3 separate regions of the Homo sapiens genome follow, and regions 1 and 2 are each linked to region 3. The links are contacts of gene promoters, found by promoter capture Hi-C in human tissues and cell types (Jung and others, 2019). All regions are on one chromosome and are shown on one strand. Each heading gives the region's core, a stretch centred on a gene start or on the middle of the fragment in contact. The rest is flanking DNA. Distances are from core to core; before and after follow the strand shown.

The links. Contacts are between HindIII fragments. The study calls those that stand out against the background at their distance.
Region 1: a fragment that was not itself captured here is called in contact with the fragment with the promoter of AADAT in region 3 in 2 of the 25 tissues and cell types used here (mesendoderm cells and pancreas).
Region 2: a fragment that was not itself captured here is called in contact with the fragment with the promoter of AADAT in region 3 in 1 of the 25 tissues and cell types used here (hippocampus).

The regions. Positions count from the first base shown.
Region 1 is chr4:170,125,197-170,129,001 of GRCh38, reverse strand. No RefSeq gene overlaps it. Among named protein-coding and RNA genes, the nearest start is that of AADAT, 37 kb to the right of the region's middle. The HindIII fragment of the contact is 6,977 bases long and covers 1-3,805 here.
Region 2 is chr4:170,044,694-170,048,559 of GRCh38, reverse strand. No RefSeq gene overlaps it. Among named protein-coding and RNA genes, the nearest start is that of MFAP3L, 20 kb to the right of the region's middle. RefSeq lists an enhancer at 2,556-3,095. The HindIII fragment of the contact is 3,764 bases long and covers 1-3,407 here.
Region 3 is chr4:170,087,874-170,091,486 of GRCh38, reverse strand. It overlaps AADAT (aminoadipate aminotransferase), which reads left to right and starts at 1,531. Exons shown (of 13, transcript NM_016228.4): 1 at 1,531-1,863; 2 at 2,923-3,091. The coding sequence starts at 1,797. RefSeq lists an enhancer at 1-115 and a silencer at 2,015-2,309. The HindIII fragment of the contact is 6,677 bases long and covers 1-2,632 here.

The DNA of each region.
Region 1 (3,805 bases), core at 1,287-3,786, 37 kb before region 3:
GGCAGTTATAGCTGTGTTAGAAGACTTTAAGCAACCTGTAAATATTGTCTCTGATTCAGCTTATGTTGTTCAAGCCACTCAATACATAGAAACTGCACTCATTAAATATCTTGTGGATGAACAACTCTATCAGCTGTTTTCTTCTTTACAAAAGGCAGTGCGTGATCACTATTTTCCTTTCTATATCATGCACATTCGAGCATATACTAATCTCCCTGGGACCGTTGTAAGGGCTAACGATCAAGGTGATTTACTAGTTTCCACTGTGCTTACTAATGTCCAAGATTTTCACTCCCTAACACATGTTAATGCAGCAGGACTTAAACAAAAATATCAAATTACTTGGAGACAGGCAAAGGACATTGTGCAACATTGCCCTCAGTGCCAGGTACTACAACTGCCACATGCAGGGACTGGTGCTAACCCACAGGGATTAACCCCCAATATGTTGTGGCAAATGGACGTAACCCACGTACCTTCATTCGGGAAACTTCCATACGTCCATGTTACTATAGATACCTTTTCTCGTGTTGTATGGACAACTTGCCAAACAGGTGAGGCAGCAGCTCATATTAAGAAACATTTACTTTCCTGTTTCGCTGCCATAGGCATCCCACAAAAGATTAAAATAGACAATGGCCCAGGCTACTGTAGTAAATCTTTACAAGTGTTCCTCCAACAATGGCACACTGAGCACAGTACTGGAATACCCTATGATTCTCAAGGCCAAGCCATTGTTGAATGGGCTAACTAAACCTTAAAATCTCAATTACGAAAACAAAAGACAGAAGGGGGGATCCAGAGAATACTCTACTCCACATACACAGATACAACTGGCTCTTATTGAGAGGTGACAATGTGCTAGCAGCCCTCGCTTGCTCTCATCATCTCCTTGGCCTTGGAGTCCACTGTGGCCACACTCAAGGAGCCCTTCAGCCTGCTGCTGCACCATGAGGGCCCCTCTCTGGGGCAGGCCAAGGCCAGAGCCAGCTCTGTCTGCTCGCGGGGAGGTGTGGAGGGAAAGGCATGGGCAGGAGCCAGAGCTGTGTGCCGCGTTCACAGGCTGGTGTGGGTTCCAGGTGGGCATGGGCTCGGCAGGCCCCACACTCAGCACAGCCAGCTGGCGCCTGCTGGGCTTGATCTGGGGATGAGCTCCCTCTGGGCTGCCAGAGTGCCCAGGCTAGGTGCCGCTAAATCCCATGGCGAGTGCCACTGAGAGGTGAAGCTGGCTGGGCTTCTCGGACGGGTGAGGACTCAGAGAACTTTTCTGTCTAGCTAAAGGATTGTAAATGCACCAACCAGCACTCTGTGTCTAGCTAAAGGTTTGTAAACACCCCAATCAACACTCTATGTCTAGCTAATCTAGTGGGGACTTGGCGAACTTTTCTGTCTAGCTAAGGGATTGTTAATGCACCAATCAGCACTCTGTGCCTAGCTAAAGGTTTGTAAAGGCAGCAATCAGCACCCTGTCAAAACAGACCAATCAGCTCTCTGTAAAGTGGACCAATCAGCTCTCTGTAAAATGGACCAATCAGCAGGATGTGGCTGAGGTCAGATAAGGGAATAACAGCAGGCTGCCCCAGCCAGCAGCGGCAACCCACTCGGGTCCCGTTCCATGCTGTGGAAGCTTTGTTGTTTTGCTCTTCATATTCAATCTTGCTGCTGCTAACTCTTTGGGTCTGTGCTGCCTTTATGAGCTGTAACACTCACTGTAAAGGTCTGCAGCTTCATTCCTGAAGCCAGTGAGACCACGAACCCACTGGGAGGGATGAACAACTCTGGTTGGGAGGAACGAACAACTCCGGACATGCCACCTTTATGAACTGTAACACTCACTGCGAAGGTCTGCAGCTTCACTCCTGAGGCCAGTGAGTCCCCGAACCCACTGGAAGGAATGAACAACTCCAGACGTGCAGACTTTAAGAGCTATAACACTCACCGCATAGGTCTGCAGCTTCACTCCTGAAGTCACCGAGAACACAAACCCACCAGTAAGAAGAAACTCCAGACACCTCCAAACATCAGAAGGAAAAAACTCCAGACACACCATCTTTAAGAACTGTAACACTCACCGTGAGGGTCTGCGGCTTCATTCTTGAAGTCAGCAAGACCAAGAACCCACCAATTCCAGACACATTATCACTTTAAATTTTTTGGATTTGTCTAGAGATCAGGTTATAATGGCAGCAGAGCAGCATTTGACAGGGCAAAAAATAAATCCTCATGAAGGAAAACATGAGTGGTGGAAGGACGTCAGAACTAAAACCTGGGAAAAGGGCAAAATCATTACATGGGGTCGAGGGTTTGCTTGTACCTCACCAGGAGAGAATCAGCTTCCTGTCTGGGTACCACAAGACATCTTAAGCTGTTCCATGAGCCAGAATCCAAGGAAGAGGAAAAGACCTCAGAATGTCCCTGCACCCCCAGTTCATCTGATGGCTCAGATAAACATCTCTGTTGAGCAGATGGAAACCAGTAAAACTCACCAAGCAACTCCACTGACCTGGGGGCAGATGAAGAGACTAGCTCACATTGCAGAAGAGAAACTGAGGTCTCAGAACAAGCTGCTGACCATGAGTAATCTAATGGTAGCTATGATGGTGGTAATCTCCCTGGTGGTGAGTCTCCCCATAGCTGAGGCAGATCAAAATTACACACAGCCCTAGCAGAGGCTCTCCATGAGAGTCTTGCCCCTGTAGCAAACTTCTGCCTGGACATCGAGGTGTTTCCAGACATCCTCTGAAATCTAAGCAAAGGTTCCCAAACTCCAATTCTTGACTTCTGTGCACTGGCAGGCTCAACACCACATGGAAGCTGCCAAGGCTTGAGGCTTTCACCCTCTGAAGCCATGGCCCAAACTCTACATTGGCCCCTTTCAGCCATGGCTGGAGTGGCTAGGCCACAGGGCACCAGGTCCCTAGGCTGCACACAGCATGGGGGGCTTGGGCCCAACCCACAAAACCACATTTTCCTCCTAGGTCTCTGGGCCTGTGATAGGATGGGTTACCATGAAGGTCTCTGATATGCCCTGGAGACATTTCCCCCATTCTTTTGGTAATTAACATTCAGCTCCTCATTACTTATGCAAATTTCTGCAGCTAGCTTGAATTTCTCCTCATAAAATGGGATTTTCTTTTCAATCACATTGTCAGGCTGCAAATTTCTGAACTTTTTTGCTCTGCTTCTCTTATAAAACGGAATGCCTTTAACAGCACCCAAGTCACATCTTGAATGTTTTTCTGGTTAGAAGTTTCTTCCACTAGATACCCTAAATCCTCTCTCTCAAGTTCAAAGTTTCACAAATCCCTAGGGCAGGAGAAAATGCTGCCAGTCTCTTTGCTAAAACATAACAAGAGTCACCTTTGCTCCAGTTCCCAACTTCCTCATCTGAGACCACCTCAGCCTGGATTTCATTGCCAATATCATTATCAGCATTTTAGCCAAAGCCATTCAACAAGTCTCTAGAGAGTTACAAACTTTCCCACATTTCCCTTTCTTCTTCTGAGCCCTCCACAATGTTCCAACCTCTTCTTGTTACCCAATTCCAAAGTTGCTTCCACATTTTTGGATATCTTTTCAGCAGCACCCCACTTCTAGTACTAATTTATTATATTATTCTGCTTTCATACTGCTGATGAAGACATACCCAAGGCTGGGCAATTTACAAAAGAAAGAGGTTTAACTGGACTCACAGTTTCATGTAGCTGGGGAGGCCTCACAATCATGGTGGAAGGCAAGGAGGAGCAAGTCACATCTCACATGGGTGGCAACAGAGAGCTTGTGCAGAGAAACTTGTGTTTTAAAA
Region 2 (3,866 bases), core at 276-2,775, 43 kb after region 3:
TGTCTTCCACAAAACCAGTCCCTCGTGCCAAAAAGGTTGGGAACTGCTCCCCTGGAGTCATGATACAAGACTGTGTCACCTTAGGGCTGAGCTGAGGATCACCTGAGTGATGGGTGACCTTGGGGCTGGGCTCAGAGCCAGTGAGAGGAGTGGGGGACATCTTTATGCTGGGGTTCCAGAAGAGGACAAAGCAGCATTGCCAATATGTTTGTGAGATGTCGTCAGAAAAAGATAAGGTAGAGGAGTGCAGTTATGCAGCAGGTTCAGCAACACTTAGAGATCTCTCACCTACAGATGGATGCTTAGCTCACATTGCTCAAGAGAAAGGAGCATAAATGCAACTTAGCCCCTAAGTTGTACATTTCAAAGACTCAGAAATATGCAGCCAGAGATTTGTTATCAACAGTCATCAAGAGGGAAGGATAAACACGAAAGGCTTGTGGGAATGATAATTGTTAGAATGTCCAAGCATCAATAATTTGTGACAACCTAGGACATCTCAAAAGTCTGTATGTTGGATTGCTTTGAATTGGATTTATCACATCCTATGCTATCGTGAAAAACAAGTTTGAAATGTAAATGAGCAACACATCTTGACCAGCAGGCGGCAGTCTTACCTCATATAATTTCTTTAAAAGCTTGCAGAAAGAATTACAGTAAATTATTTTTTTTTAATTGTACTGAAAATTTATTAGAATGGATTTTTTAAATGCCAAATTCACAACTAAAATGCAATTTATTGCAAAAAATTCAAAATTCCTTTTTGTCTCAGTATAAAAAACATTGAATGTATCTATTAGAAATTAATGAACAATTTTGTAAATGATACAAAAGAAAATTTTAACAAATGGTGAAACATTTTCTTATCTCAGGACACCAAATTAAAAAAAATTTAGGGCAGGTGCGGTGGCTCACACCTGTAATCCCAACTACTTTAGGAGGACAAGGCAGGAGGAACTCTTTTTTTATTTTATTTTATTTTATTTTATTTTATTTTTTTATTGATCATTCTTGGGTGTTTCTCGCAGAGGGGGATTTGGCAGGGTCACAGGACAATAGTGGAGGGAAGGTCAGCAGATAAACAAGTGAACAAAGGTCTCTGGTTTTCCTAGGCAGAGGACCCTTCGGCCTTCCGCAGTGTTTGTGTCCCTGGACTTGAGATTAGGGAGTGGTGATGACTCTTAACGAGCATGCTACCTTCAAGCATCTGTTTAACAAAGCACATCTTGCACCGCCCTTAATCCATTCAACCCTGAGTGGATACAGCACATGTTTCAGAGAGCACAGGGTTGGGGGTAAGGTCACAGATCAACAGGATCCCAAGGCAGAAGAATTTTTCTTAGTACAGAACAAAATGAAAAGTCTCCCATGTCTACCTCTTTCTACACAGACACGGCAACCATCCGATTTCTCAATCATTTCCCCACCTTTCCCCCCTTTCTATTCCACAAAACCGCCATTGTCATCATGGCCCGTTCTCAGTGAGCTGTTGGGTACACCTCCCAGACGGGGTGGTGGCCGGGAAGAGGGGCTCCTCACTTCCCAGTAGGGGCAGCCAGGCAGAGGCGCCCCTCACCTCCCGGACAGGGCGGCTGGCCGGGCACGGGGCTGACCCCCCCCCCCCACCTCCCTCCCGGACGGGGTGGCTGGCCGGGCAGAGGGGCTCCTCACTTCCCAGTAGGGGCGGCCGGGCAGAGGCGCCCCTCACCTCCCGGACGGTGCGGCTGGTCGGGCGGGGGGCTGACGCCCCCACCTCCCTCCCGGACGGGGTGGCTGGCCGGGCAGGGGGCTGACCCCCCCACCTCCCTCCCGGACGGGGCGGCCAGCCAGGCAGAGCGGCTCCTCACTTCCCAGTAGGGGCGGCCGGGCAGAGGCGCCCCTCACCTCCCGGACTGGGCGGCTGGCCGGGCGGGGGGCTGACCCCCCCCACCTCCCTCCCGGACGGGGCGGCTGGCCGGGCGGGGGGCTGACCCCCCCACCTCCCTCCCGGACGAGGTGGCTGCCGGGCGGAGACGCTCCTCACTTCCCAGACGGGGTGGCTGCTGGGCGGAGGGGCTCCTCACTTCTCAGACAGGGCGGCTGCCGGGCGGAGGGGCTCCTCACTTCTCAGATGGGGCGGTTGCCAGGCAGAGGGTCTCCTCACTTCTCAGACAGGGCGGCCGGGCAGAGATGCTCCTCACATCCCGGACCGGGCGGCAGGGTAGAGGCGCTCCCCACATCTCAGACGATGGGCGGCCGGGCAGAGACACTCCTCACTTCCTAGATGGGATGGCGGCTGGGCAGAGACGCTCCTCACTTTCCAGACTGGGCAGCCAGGCAGAGGGGCTCCTCACATCCCAGTCGATGGGCGGCCAGGCAGAGACGCTCCTCACTTCCCAGACTGGGTGGCGGCCGGGCAGAGGCTGCAATCTCGGCACTTTGGGAGACCAAGGCAGGCGGCTGGGAGGTGGAGGTTGTAGTGAGCCGAGATCACGACACTGCACTCCAGCCTGGGCACCATTGAGCACTGAGTGAACGAGACTCCGTCTGCAATCCCGGCACCTCGGGAGGCCGAGGCTGGCGGATCACTCGCGGTTAGGAGCTGGAGACCAGCCCGGCCAACACAGCGAAACCCCGTCTCCACCAAAAAAATACGAAAACCAGTCAGGCGTGGTGGCGCGCGCCTGCAATCGCAGGCACTCGGCAGGCTGAGGCAGGAGAATCAGGCAGGGAGGTTGCAGTGAGCCAAGATGGCAGCAGTACAGTCCAGCTTCGGCTCGGCATCAGAGGGAGACCGTGGAAAGAGAGGGAGAGGGAGACTGTGGGGAGAGGGAGAGAGGGAGAGAGGGAGAGGGAGAGCTAAATTATTTTATTCTATGTGATATCTCAACAGGAATCTAAATATAAAACTCATATTTAGAATGAATTATAAATTGAATATTATTTAATCATACCGTGGCCTGGAGTTCTATGACTAATGATAACTAAACCTGTTCATTCAACTAACTGCAAAAATACAAGACACGTGTAGCTATTACTTGAATTTACCATCAAGACATATTTCAGCACACTAGATAGAAAAGTATAATGTCTAGACTACTCTTAAGTCATAGGGGGGCAAATACAGTTAAATATCAATTTTCCAATTAAGATATTTAATTTATTTTGCCTTCCTATGTCAGGCCTGTATAATTTTATATTACATACCTCAGAAGTCTCATTCATTTTTTTCAAATGTATAAGTTTTCATTCACTCTAAAGAAATATTACTTTCAATGTTTTAGAACGGTTAATGTATGGTTGCAATTTTTATAACATTTAAAAGCATATGTCACATACTTAGTCCATTTTGTGTTGCTATAACAGAATGCCACAAGCTAGGTAATTTATAAGGAAAAGAAGTTTATTTGGCTCATGGTTCTGGAGTCCTGGAAGTCCAAGTGCATGATGCTGACATGTGGTGAAGACTTTAGTGCAGCATGATCCCATGGCAGAAGGCAGAAGGGCAAGAGGGGGTGAGAGCACGAGAGGGCCAAACTTGCTTTTATAACAAACCCACTCCTACAATAACAACATTAATCTATTCATGAGGGCAGAGCTTTCATGGCCTAAACACCTCTTAATGGTCCCACCTATTAAACCTGTCATAGGCTGGGCATGGTGACTCATGCCTGTAATCCCAGCACTTTAGGAGGCCGAAGCAGGTGGATTGCCTGAGGTCAGGAGTTCGAGACCAGCATGAGCAACATGGTGAAACCCCGTCTCTACTACAAATACAAAAACTAGTAGGGCGTGGTGGCAGGCACCTGTAAGCCCAGCTACTTGGGAGGCTGAGACAGGAGAATCGCTTGACCTGGGAGGCAGAGGTTGCAGTGAGCTGAGACCAG
Region 3 (3,613 bases), core at 282-2,781:
GCGGGTCCGAGTCCCACCCCGCTGGGAGGCAGCTGAGGCCTGGCGAGAATTCGAAGGTAGCGCCGGTGAGCCGGCATTGCTGGGAGACTGGGCACACCCTCCGCAGCTGCTGGCCCGGGTGCTAAGCCCCTCACTACCCGGGTCTGGCGGAGCCGGCCCGCCGCTCTGAGTGCCGGCCCGCCAAGCCCACGCCCACCCGGAACTCTAGCTGGCTCGCAAGCGCCCGCACAGCCCTGGTTCCCGCCCGTGCCTCTCCCTACACACCTCCCCGCAGGCTGAGGGAGCCGGCTCCGGCCTCCGCTATCCCAGGAAGGGGCTCCCACAGTGCAGCGGCGGGCTGAAGGGCCCCTCAAGCGCGGTCAGAGTGAGCGCTGAGGCCGAGGAGGCGCCAAGAGTGAGCGAGGGCTGCGAGGGCTGCCAGCAGGCTGTCACCTCTCAATACTTCCTTTTTGTTATTTAGCTGCTAGCACAAAGATTTTACTGGGTTATCTCAGCCTTTTGCTGCCAGGACCTAGATAAAAGCAGTGGCTCCTTGACCAACCTATTAGGTAAACTTAAAAGAGAGCCATTTGGCAGTGAGTCAATAATCATCTAGGAAGTACTCAGTAAATTTGTGCTGAATGAATGAATCTGTTCATTCATTTTAATAACCATTAAAGAATTTTTTAAAGTCAAAGAGAGGTTGTCTGAAACCCTTCCCTCATTAAGTGCTCACATTAAACCTTGTACATTCCATTTTGGTGATTCAGGAAGGAGAAATTGCAGAAAAGTTGAGGGAGGTGGGGAGTAAGAAGGGTTATTTTGTAAGAAAAAAAAAGGCAAGGTGCTAGACCCAAAAAGATCCGGATATTCACTTCCAACATAATTCTTATTTAACGAAAGGTCAGAAATTCAATGTGAGGGTAGACACTAAAATTGAAGAGACTCAGAGTGATTTTTCAAAAATTTTTGTCAGAACTCCATCGTCACTCCAAAATGCTGAGATCTTCGAGAAAGTGATGTTGAAATTCGTCTTGGTCGCCGGGATGCTTCCCAGGAGAGTGCCCAGAGTTTCACTAACGAAAGATGGGTATTTAGCATAGCCATGGTCTGAGCGGGCAAAATGCACAGTCCCAGTGACTGAGAGGAGGCCAGCGGAGCGCGCGGGAACGAGGGTGGGGCCGCTCCCGGCTGGGCGCAGCTCGGGAGCCCCCTGCAGTGGACCCAAGTCGCCGCCAGATGGTTCCCGAGGATTAGGATCACGGGCACTTCCGGTCCCCTCGGTCAGCCCCTGGGCTAGCCTCTGGGCCGGCGCCTAGGCCGGCCAACGCGGACGCCGGGTTGCGGTGATTCCCAGCGGCGAGGTCAAGAGTCATTGGCCTGGGGCTGCAAGCGCCTCGCGCCTGGGCTACCCCGCGCCCTGCGCTCTGAGGGCGATGATCCGGGACGGGGAGGCGCGCGCCGCGGGCGGCCATAGGCCACGGCGCGGGGCGGGAGGGGGCGCGGCGAGGCCCGCGGCGGGGCAAAACCGGCCTGGGCCCTGGCGGCCGCAGGAGCGCGTGCGGCGTGGACTTTGCCGGGCTCGCCACACAGCCCCAGACCCGTTTAGGACCGGGAGACCGAACGCAGCGTCCAGCCGGGGAGTTTCGGCGGCGTTCTCCGGGCACCGCGCGCGGGAAGCCAGACGCAGCGGGGGGACACATCTCGCGGTGGCGTTGCCAGAGTGAGGAGTTAGCAGGCAGGACTTGACGAGGCTCTTTGGTTTTTCTAGTCCTCAACCACTGAAGAAGAAGCTTGATGCTTGGCTGTCAGAAGACATGAATTACGCACGGTTCATCACGGCAGCGAGCGCAGCCAGAAACCCTTCTCCCATCCGGACCATGAGTGAGAAACGGGGTGACCATCTCTCCTTTGGGGTGGGGCATTCCTCGCACAGCCTCTAAGGAGGGTTCCCTAGCAAGCCACCGCTTGGTTGCATCCATGCGTACCCCTGTGCACGCTCGCGGTGAGCCAGGCTCTGCGTGCAGAAATGAAATAGACACAGCCTTTGTTCTCAAAGAACTCGGGCTGAAACGGAAGGCGGGTATTTCTGCTGGAGCAGAGTAGGAGCAACAGTAGAGAGAGGCGCAGACTGCTGTGGGGCACGGCCTTGGAAGGGAGGGGGCGTGCTATCAAGAAAGGCTCTTCCTGGGAAGCTGAGAAGGGGCATGCACAGCGTGCAGATGGGTGTACAGTGGAGAGGGCCAGGTAAATGGGAGAGGGGTGGGCCATGAAGCTCACAGACAGGTCGGGGCTAAGTGGAGGAGGGCTTCTGCTATTGTGGCCCTTTGCTGTCTTTCTGATCCCTCTGCCTTCTCTTTGGTCACCTTCATTCTTTAGTCCCTCCACAAGTGAGGTGCCTAGAAAAAGTTATTCTGTATGTTTATTTTAGACTAGCTTTTGTCTTAGTCCATTCAGGCTGCTATAACAAAATACCACAAACTGGGTAATTTATGAACAATAGAATTATTTCTCACAGTTCTGGAAGCTAGGAAGTCTAAGATCAAAGTGCCAGCAGCTTCTGTGTCACCATGGTGAGAGCCCTTCCTTATAGACAGAGCCATCTTGCTGCATCCTCACGTGGTAGAAGGGAGAACCTATGTCCTCACGTGGCAGAAGGGCCAAGGGCATTCCCTCAGCCCTCTTTTATAAGTGCACCAATCCCATTCAGGAGGGTGGATCCCTCCTGACCTAATCACCTCTAGAGACCCCACCTGTTAAAACTATCACATTAGTATTAACTTCCAAGTATGAATCTGGGGGAGCACCAACATTTAGACCATAGCACACTCTATCACTAGAAATCGTTAAACTTTATAGTTTTATTGACTATAATGCATGCTTAACTATCCGCTTATAACAATCTTCAATGAAATTGTTTCTTCTCTTCCATGTGTATTGTAGCTGACATATTGAGCAGAGGACCAAAATCGATGATCTCCTTGGCTGGTGGCTTACCAAATCCAAACATGTTTCCTTTTAAGACTGCCGTAATCACTGTAGAAAATGGAAAGACCATCCAATTTGGAGAAGAGATGATGAAGAGAGCACTTCAGTATTCTCCGAGTGCTGGGTAAGTATCAATACTTAACATAATTTTATTGGCTTATTTTCATAAGAAATATTCTAAGGCCCATTGATAAAGAATATTAAAGAAATATTCTAAGGTCCATTCATAAATATTCTAAAGCCATTGACCCATTTGGTCATTCAATGACCAAATACTCAGTCATTGAATACTAACCAAATGAGTATTCAATGGTTAGGAAGGTCTGGGGAAAGGTTTTCAAAGGATAATTAAGAACAGAAAGGATATTGAATGTTTAACACTCCTCAGTGATTGCTTCTCAATCGCAAATGACCAAGAAGGCTTCTAGAAGGAAATACCATTAGAGCTGAGTCCAAAAAAATGAGAAGATGTCCAGGTGAAACAAACATATCAGGAGAAATGAAGAAACGGAAGATCCAGGAAGCTTCAACTTTTTAAAGTTTAAGCATCCTGGATCTTCCGTTTCTTCATTCTATAGTCTAAACAAGCAGTCATGCAAATACATTGAATATAGTCATTCATTTCTATAGTCTAAACAAGCAGCCA